Regions from separate parts of the Homo sapiens genome. Here region 1 is linked to region 2. Evidence: promoter capture Hi-C in 16 types of primary human blood cells and fetal thymus (Javierre and others, 2016). All regions are on one chromosome and are shown on one strand. Each heading gives the region's core, a stretch centred on a gene start or on the middle of the fragment in contact. The rest is flanking DNA. Distances are from core to core; before and after follow the strand shown. Region 1 has its middle 4.8 kb from the start of GABRR3. Region 2 holds the start of OR5K2 (olfactory receptor family 5 subfamily K member 2).

Region 1 (4,696 bases), core at 419-2,918, 460 kb before region 2:
TACCAAAATTCTGTGTCCTATCATCTTGAGACAACCTTTGATGACTGCTAAACTTTTACGTTCGCAAAGAAATATTGGTAGCTGATAAAGAATAAGCAAGATTGAAGAGGAGACTTCACGAAGTGGTCTTTGATCTGAAGGAATGAAGCACTGGAATAGAAGATGTCCTCTTTACAGGACTCAGTGGAGCTATTTGGGGCACTTATTTTTCGGAAATATCTGTCAAGTCATATGCCTCCTCACTGTCACTTAAATTATGTTAGGATGCCCTGGTGTCTCCTTCTGCATCGCAGGGATGAATCATGATGAGAATCTGTCTGACCTCTTTACTGAATAATCTTTGCTAGACTATCTATATCGCTATAAACATTAAGGAAGAAATAAAAGCAGTTTGTTTTTTGATGATGAATTTTAAGTGGGAAATGGTCTGCATAAAAATAAAAATAAGGCAATGGCTTACACTAGAGAGAGTTGACTTACAGAAAGTCTAAGGGTTTTAGTTCAATTACAAGAAGGCATCTGCCTCTGTTGATGCTGAGTTAGCTCCTTAACCTTATTCCTTTAGAGCTTCCCTTTGCAAGCTCAGTAAGCTTCTTAAGAAAAAAAAAAAAAGCAGAAAAGCACATCTGTCAGAACTAGAAAGTGGTAACTACCAGGAAACAAAATGAATCACAGGGTCACTGGAGAATTTCGTAGTAGTTTAAGCTCTCCCTTGCATAAATTGTCTCCTGTTTACTCTTCTTCCACTCTGATGATGTCAGTCAGCCAGTTTTTATTTCTTTGGCAGCGACATAAAGAGAAAATTTGGAAAGGATGGCTGTGTCGCCAATCTTGGGGTATGTAGCCATTATTTTGCCTATAAAGAGAAAACAAAAGAAAAGCTAAGGTCTTATTTAGACTGGATCTGACAACAGCAACAACAACAAATTCCAAGCTTCTATAAATTTCCCACTGTGTCTGCAGGATGTCATCTAGGCAAAATATCTTGATTTGCAAATTGTAGAGTCATAAAATCTTAATAGGGAAAGACTTTTGGAAATCATTTAGACTACATTTAATGTCTCTCCTGCTCTCTTTTATGCAGAGGAAGCTAGGACTAGAGAGGTTAAGTGATCAACTAATTTAGTTTTCATATTTACAGTCATGTGCTGCACAACGACGTTTTGGTCAGTGATGGACCACATATATGACTGCAGTTCTCCAATAAGCTAAGGTTAATTTATTATTGAAGAAAGAAAAATATTTTGTATAAATTTAGTATAGCCTAAGTGTACAGTTGACAGTAGTGTACAGTCATGTCTTGGGCTTTCACACTCAGTCACCCAGAACAACTCACTAACTCACCCAGAACAACTTTCAGTCCTGTTAACTCCATTCATGGTAAGTGCCCTATACAATTCATCTTTTATACTGCATTTTAACTGAACCTTTTCTATTTTGTCTATGTTTATACATGTTTAGATACACAAATACGTACCATTGTGTTACAATTGCCTATAGTATTTGGTATAATAACGTGCTGTATAGGTTTGTGGCCTAGGAGTAATATCATATAGCATAGGTGTGCAGTAGGCTAGACCATAGAGTTTTGTGTAAGTATACTCTACAATGTTTGCACAATGAGGAAATCACCTAACAACGCATTTCTCTGAGTTTGTCCCCGTCATCAAATTGCGCGTAACTGTTTTGCTTTGATGCATTGGAAATATAACTGGCCATGCCTAGAGCAGCCAGTAGGGGGCATTTGCTATCCTTCCAAAAAACCCTGCTCTCACTCAGAAATCCTGTTTCCTCTCCAGTTCCCAGAATTACCAGATAACCAGTAGATCATCGTTTTTTCATACCCAGTAGACCATCGTCCCCCCCACGACCCTTGTTTCAGTCTCTTATCACATCCTTCCTGGCATACAGAATCAGCTGTGATACGAGTGAGGACACCTGAAGAATCTTGCTCTGTTTTACAGGCAAGAGGATGACACTAAAGCAAAGCAGTCTTCATCATCGTGTAATAGCGCAAGACCACCACTAGATGGAAGCATAGGATACACATTCTCATCCAAATTACTATTGTCTCGAATTTGCCTCCTTAGGAAAACTTTCTTATGTAGTATTGGTAAATGCAAATTATTCAGCACTTGTAGTGAATAATTTTCACTTACCAATACTGGCAGAATGAACTGAAAAGATTAATGATATAATACCAAATGATTCAGATAAAAAACCCACACACCCCGTTATTGAGGAAAATGCAATTATTTACCTCGAATAATTGACTAATGAGGTTTATTGGTTTCTCTGATTGAACACTAATTTATTTTTAAGATTTCACTTTTTACCTACACCTAAGAACAGCATTTTGTTTGTGGGAACGGTAAGAGACAGAGGTGAACATTGTAGAAAAATAAGCTTTCTATTAGAATGAAGTACCTGTTATGAGTAAAGTTTCTAAAGGGCACTAAATAAAACACTAGGGCACATGGCTCTGGGACTGGATATGGTACTTACTGCATGATTTTTAAAAAGTTTCTTAAACTTCCTGGACTTCAATTTCCTCTTCTGTATTCATTAAGCACATGTATGTAGGTGACTTTTGAGACCCCTGAGGAAGCAATAAAACACAGTGGTTAAGAAGAGACAATAGCGATAATCTTTATTGGGATATTTGGTGTCAGTTTTTGTGGGTACAAACATCTATTCTTCCATTTACTACTTGTCTGAACATTGAAAATGACCTAAGATTTTTTGTTGAGTCAGTTACTTTATATATAGTTAAGAGGAATAATACTAGGACCTATCTTTTAAGGTTAAAGTCAGAATTTATGAGACTGTATGTTTAGCACAATGTTTGATACATTGAAGATACCATAATTGACAAAATTAATATCAGCTATCAATCTCATGCATCTTTATTAATGTAGTATGATCTTCCAATGTTATGAATTTCATTAAGATTACCAATAAGGTCCCTGTTTTCCAGGATTGAGATTTTGAGTCATCTTTAATTACTCCCTTTCAAAATCTTTCTTCGTTTTTTGCTTCAGAGCTACTTTTGCATTTTCCTGCCCTTTGTATTTCCATTGCCACCTGACCTTTTTGTCTCTAATATTAATATATCTCCCTGGGCTCCAGTGCTGCCACTGCTATGCATGCACCTACTTTCTGGGCCCTGGTACCATTGAGAAATATGCCCATATTTCTCAGAGAAGACTCCATCTGTGGGAGAAATGGAGAACAGAAGGGCCCAAGAAACTATTGCTGCTGCCATGGACACCCACAAATTTTGCCATCAAGTGCCCCCATAGTATTTGCTGACACTGACCTCAGCTGATGCAGCTGTTAGAATTTCATACCAATGCACCACCTTAGAGTAGAAGCTGCTGCACCCCATCTGACCAGCACCCTTGTACCCATCTGTGGTGAAGATCTTTCCCAACTGAAGCCTATCTGTAAGGTCTGGAAGAGGTAACTCCTTGTTCAAATACACACACATCAAAGCAAGGCTACAAAGAACTGGAAAAATCAAGAAAACATGATAACACTAAAGGAATACAAAAAAATCCACTAATGAATCCCTAAGAAATGAAGATCTACAAATTTCCTGACAAAGAATTAAAAATAATTGTTTTAAACAAGCTCAGCAAGCTACAAAATAACAGATTGGTAACTTAGTGGAATCAGGAAAATAATATATGAAAAAAATGAGAAGTTGAACAAAGAGATGAAAATCATTAAAAAGAACCAAAGAGCAGTTCTGGAGCTAAAGAATACAATGAGTGGAATGAAAAATGCAAAAGAGGGTTTCAACAGCACACAGTTAAGCGGAAGAATCTGCAAATTCAAAGAGAGATCATTTAAAATTATCCAGTCAGAGAAGAAAAGAAAAAAATAATGAAAAAGGGTGAAGAAAGCCTATGGGATTTATGGAATACCATCAAGTAAACCAATAAATGCATTATGGAATTTTAAGGAAAACAGACAGAAAAAGGGAGCAGAAAGCTAATTTAAATAATAATGACTAAAACCTTCCTAATTTGGGGAAGATTTGGAAATTGTGAATCCAGATTCAAGAATCTCAAATGTTTCCAAATAGGTTCAACTTAAAAGAGAACATACTGAGATACATTGTAATAAAATTGTCAAAAGTTAAGGACAAAGAGACTTTTAAGGGAAGCAACTCATCCTATGTAAAGAAAACCCTGTGATACCACTAGTGGATTTCTCAGCAGAAACCTTGCAGGCCTGGAGAGAGTGAGATGACATATTTGTAGTACTGAAAGAAAAAAAAACATACTGGTTAGCAAAAATACCATTCCCAGAAAAATTATTCTATAAAAATGAAGGAAAGATAAAATCTTTCCTTGAGAAAAAAAATGAGAGAATTTATCACCATTAGACCTGCCATATAAGAAATACTAATGAGTATTCTTAATTAAAATGAAAACACATATATACAACCAATGAAGACTAAATCTGAAAATTATAAAGAACTGATGAATGGAATTAAAGAAGAAACAGATAAATGAAAAGACATCCTTTGACCTTGGATGGGAAGAATTTATATTGTGAAAATGCACATATTTTCCAAAGAATTCTACAGATTCAGTGCAATCCCTATCAAAATCTCAGTGGCATTCTTTACAGAAATAGAAAAGCATTTTAAAATTCATATGAATCTACCAAAGACCCCAAAGCTATC
Region 2 (5,016 bases), core at 948-3,447:
TTATACTGCATGTAAAACTTTTTATTTTGTTTTTATGCAATATTTTTATGTCGGTTTTATTATAATAGATATTATAGCTAAACACCATTTAAAATATTTGTCAGTATACATTCATATGGATGGTTCACATTTATTTAATCATACTGGTTAACTAACTGGTTACCATTTAGGTGTTTAAATTTTTCACTATTATGAGTGAGATTATAATGAACATCATTATATGTACATATTTTCTGAAGTTTTAGTTATTTCTTTTTGATGCATTTATTTTTACTGATCAAAAGGTATGAACCTTAAGAGTTTCTTTAATCTATTACCAAATTATTTTCTAATGATTACACCAATTTATACATTTACCAGGAATGCAATTAGGTTGCCATTTTACTATATTCTAGATAACGCTCAATATTATCAGTTTTTTAATCTTATTTTCATATACAAAATAAATATAGCTTCATAGGTGTTTCTGAATGGTGTTTCTCTGATTAGTAATAAAATCAAACATTTTTAATTTACTTAAAAATGTTTTTTTCTTTGAGATTTTTCTATTCCTGGGCTTTACCTATTTTCTAGTAATTATTCCTACTCATTTGTATGAGATCTTATAGCAAAGGTACAGAAACTTTATCAAATTTACTGCAGATAATCTCCCAGTTTGACATTTTATTCATAATTTTTTGATACGTAGTTAGACAACCGAATATATTTTTAACTCAGGATTTCTCCAATTGCTTTTAATAACATTAATTTCTTTATGCACATAAGTAGTTTTACTCATAGTATCACTAGTAACATAGGAGGCTTTTTGGTTTTGGTTTGGTTTTTTTGAGACAGGGTCTCGCTGTGTCACCCAGGCTGGAGTGCAGTGATGCTATTATGGCTCACTGCAGCCCCCATCTCTCAGGCTCAATGAATCCTCTCACCTCAGCCTCCCCAGTAGCTGGCACTACAGGAGCATGTCACAATGCCCTGGTAATTTTATATACTTTATTTTTTTTTTTAAGAGACAGGGCCTCATTATGTTGCCCAGGCTGGTCTGGAACTCCTGGATTCAAGTGATGCTCCCTCCTCAGCCTCCTGAAGTGCTGGGATTACAGGCATAAGCCACTGTGCTCACCAGACTTTTTAAATGCAGTGTTTTGTTTTTTCTCCCAGCTTCCATCCATAACACTTTTACTCCCCAACTCCCAGGAATATAAATATCTTATAAATATTCCCTTTTCCCCCAGAGCATCTTATTTTTAAGTGTATATTCCACTAGTATTGGAGATAGTAATTTGCTGAAATAGGCAGATGAAAATAGTATTTTAAAAATATTTTTATTGGGGTAAATTATACACAACATAACTTTTATCATTTTAGTCATATTTAAGTGTACAGTTCAGTAGCATTAAGTGCATTAATATTGTTGTGGAATGATCACCATCATTTATCTCTAGAACATTTTCATCTTCCTAAACAGAAACACTGTACCCATTAAACAATAGCTCCCAGTAGACCCCTTCCCCTGGCAACTACCATTCAACTTTCTGTCTCTGTAAGTTCGACTACTCTAGCTTTCTCATGTAATTGGAATCATACAATATTTGTCCTTTTGTGTCTGGCTTATTTCAATCAGCCTTATGTCCTCAAGGTTAATCCATGTTGTAACATGTATGAGAATTTCAATCCTTTTTAAGACTGAGTAATATTCCACCACAATTTATTTATCCATTCACCTGTCCATGAACATTTGGGTTGTTTTTACGTTTTGGTTATTGAAGGTAATGCTGCTGTTAACATTAGCATACAAAAATAGTCTTTTAAACACATTGTTAACCACTACATATACAAACATTGAAATCGGGAACACTGGTACCAATTACTGACACTTAAATTACGAATCAGCTTTACCTATACTATATGGAGAAGTTCTGTGCTCTCAATATTTCTCTCAAGACCTCAAAAGTCATCCTTGTGCACCCAATCAGATATTTTTTCAAAATATGATAGAAACATGTTCAACCAATAGCCACAAAAGTAGTAGCCTCAGGAGACTCATTCTCGCAGTGAATTGGGCATGCACCAAATTCCAGGCAAGATGAGGAGACATTGTGGAAGATGCTCTCCTTCTTTTAAGCCAAAGAGACGTCAATAATTGTGGCATATTATTAATTAGTGCCTTATTCCTCTACAATTTTTTTCAGAGAGGTCAGGAATGGTTGAAGAAAATCATACCATGAAAAATGAGTTTATCCTCACAGGATTTACAGATCACCCTGAGCTGAAGACTCTGCTGTTTGTGGTGTTCTTTGCCATCTATCTGATCACCGTGGTGGGGAATATTAGTTTGGTGGCACTGATATTTACACACTGTCGGCTTCACACACCAATGTACATCTTTCTGGGAAATCTGGCTCTTGTGGATTCTTGCTGTGCCTGTGCTATTACCCCCAAAATGTTAGAGAACTTCTTTTCTGAGGGCAAAAGGATTTCCCTCTATGAATGTGCAGTACAGTTTTATTTTCTTTGCACTGTGGAAACTGCAGACTGCTTTCTTCTGGCAGCAGTGGCCTATGACCGCTATGTGGCCATCTGCAACCCACTGCAGTACCACATCATGATGTCCAAGAAACTCTGCATTCAGATGACCACAGGCGCCTTCATAGCTGGAAATCTGCATTCCATGATTCATGTAGGGCTTGTATTTAGGTTAGTTTTCTGTGGATTGAATCACATCAACCACTTTTACTGTGATACTCTTCCCTTGTATAGACTCTCCTGTGTTGACCCTTTCATCAATGAACTGGTTCTATTCATCTTCTCAGGTTCAGTTCAAGTCTTTACCATAGGTAGTGTCTTAATATCTTATCTCTATATTCTTCTTACTATTTTCAGAATGAAATCCAAGGAGGGAAGGGCCAAAGCCTTTTCTACTTGTGCATCCCACTTTTCATCAGTTTCATTATTCTATGGATCTATTTTTTTCCTATACATTAGACCAAATTTGCTTGAAGAAGGAGGTAATGATATACCAGCTGCTATTTTATTTACAATAGTAGTTCCCTTACTAAATCCTTTCATTTATAGTCTGAGAAACAAGGAAGTAATAAGTGTCTTAAGAAAAATTCTGCTGAAAATAAAATCTCAAGGAAGTGTGAACAAATGACATCTATCCTAGCTTAATGGTTTAATGCTCAAAAAACTTCTAAATAAAATTACACAGAGGAAGTGTACTAATTGTATACAAAATATTAAAACATATCAAAATACAATCAAATTAAGCAGAAATATGTGACAGGGAAAATTCATGGAAAGGAGTGAACTGTGCTAAATATTTACTCAGAATTTAAAAGCACATGCAGACATTGAATTCACTCAAGCAGCAATGTAGAAAGCCACCATGCCTATAGACTGTGTTAGTATCAATGATGATCAACACCCAAAACAACAGCAAAACTACCAGTTACAAATATAAAAAGCCATACCATTTACAAAGCGGGCTTTGATAACCAGCCCACTCTATAGCTTACAACATGTGCATTACAGTTAAGTGTTTAAGATCATGTGAACAGTCAACCAACGAACTCACTTATATCCATGAGCAACAAAAATGGCAAGTGAATTTTGAGGAAGAAAATGTAATAGCATGTGGGGGACATTATTGTAGTTAGAATGAGGTAGTCAGGAAGTGATTGTGCCAATAAAAGTGAATATTATATTTCCAAATAGAAGTTGTTGTTAAATGATTTAAACATTTAAATAATTAAAATCAGAATGTCAAATTTCAAGATAGGTTACATTAAGTTTTATTTACTCCAAAACCTACATGCATAAAGATACCATATCATAAAGTTCTAGACAAACATTTCAAACTTCATGTAGATCTGAAGAGCCTTCATTGTCAGTGAGTTAGGCTAAACTTCTCTGTGCCCATTCCTGAGAGGTGAGGAAGGGGTTAAACAATGGAGACACAACCTTTGGGTATATTATATACAGACATGTAAAAAAGTGTGATTGTGGGACTGTGGACAGGGCTTATCTCAAATATTTTCTTTTATTCCTTCACCATTGCAAAACTTAAAGTCGTTTAATATGGATAGAACCTAATAATCTTATGTGACATCATTAAAGAGATACTTTCCAATTATTCACTCTACATATATTTATTGAGATTCTGCTATGTGCAAGCACTGTTCTAGATGCTGAGACATATTAATGACCAAGACACCACTCTTTTCATCTTCTTAAATAATAGAACATTGCCATTATTTTAATTACTAACTTCTGGAACAAGGAGGACCCATAACAAGTAACAGAAAAATTCTCCCTTCCACCTCCTCTCTTGATGCTCTGTGGTCACATCTAAATTTCCAGAAGGCAGTTGTCAGATTGCAGTGGGCCTCAAGCTAGCCAGCCACCAGAGGCTGGCATCACATGGAAAATCAGCATGCTGAGTCTATATAGAAAAGGGAGTAGAAAACAGATATATTTCTAGATATAATTCCCTAAATCATGAATGAAAAACTATAAAAATATAGTGTATATTTGTAACCTCCAAGAAAACCTAACCTAGTTCATTCCAATTATACTCAGACATTTCAGTATTTCCTTGCCTGTTTCAAATTTAAACCCCATCAGTTGAGTTTTTGCCTAATGCACGTCCATCAGCATCACCAAATGTACTTGGATACTTACTATGCGTCCATGTGCTAAGCTGTGTATACACATTACCTCATCCAACCCTCATAAATCCTGTGAAAGAATTGCAATTATTATCCCTTGTGACAGGTGAGAATATGAAGCACAGTATGGTTGAGTCACTTGTTCAGTGACCCACAGGAGTCTGCATGACCTGAACCCCAGGCTGCCTGACTACAAAAACTACATTCTCAATTATTACATAAGAAATCACAAAAGGTCACCCAGAGATTGCACAGAATCGTTTATCCCACGCAATGCAGAACAGCATAGTGTTCTTTGGAAAATTAATTTTAAGAAATTTAAATATCAGGAGAATTTTTATTTAAAATTTTT

Evidence for each region. The method cuts DNA at HindIII sites, captures the fragments that hold promoters and counts their contacts. A CHiCAGO score of 5 or more calls a contact.
Region 1: a contact is called between a fragment that was not itself captured here and the fragment with the promoter of OR5K2 in region 2, in 3 of 17 cell types (total CD8 T cells, total CD4 T cells and naive CD8 T cells). The highest score is 6.7, in total CD8 T cells.

The regions. Positions count from the first base shown.
Region 1 is chr3:98,037,760-98,042,455 of GRCh38, forward strand. No RefSeq gene overlaps it. Among named protein-coding and RNA genes, the nearest start is that of GABRR3, 4.8 kb to the left of the region's middle. RefSeq lists an enhancer at 1,586-1,880. The HindIII fragment of the contact is 1,472 bases long and covers 933-2,404 here.
Region 2 is chr3:98,495,484-98,500,499 of GRCh38, forward strand. It overlaps OR5K2 (olfactory receptor family 5 subfamily K member 2), which reads left to right and starts at 2,198. Exons shown (of 1, transcript NM_001004737.1): 1 at 2,198-3,148. The coding sequence starts at 2,198. The coding sequence ends at 3,148. The HindIII fragment of the contact is 17,047 bases long and covers 1-5,016 here.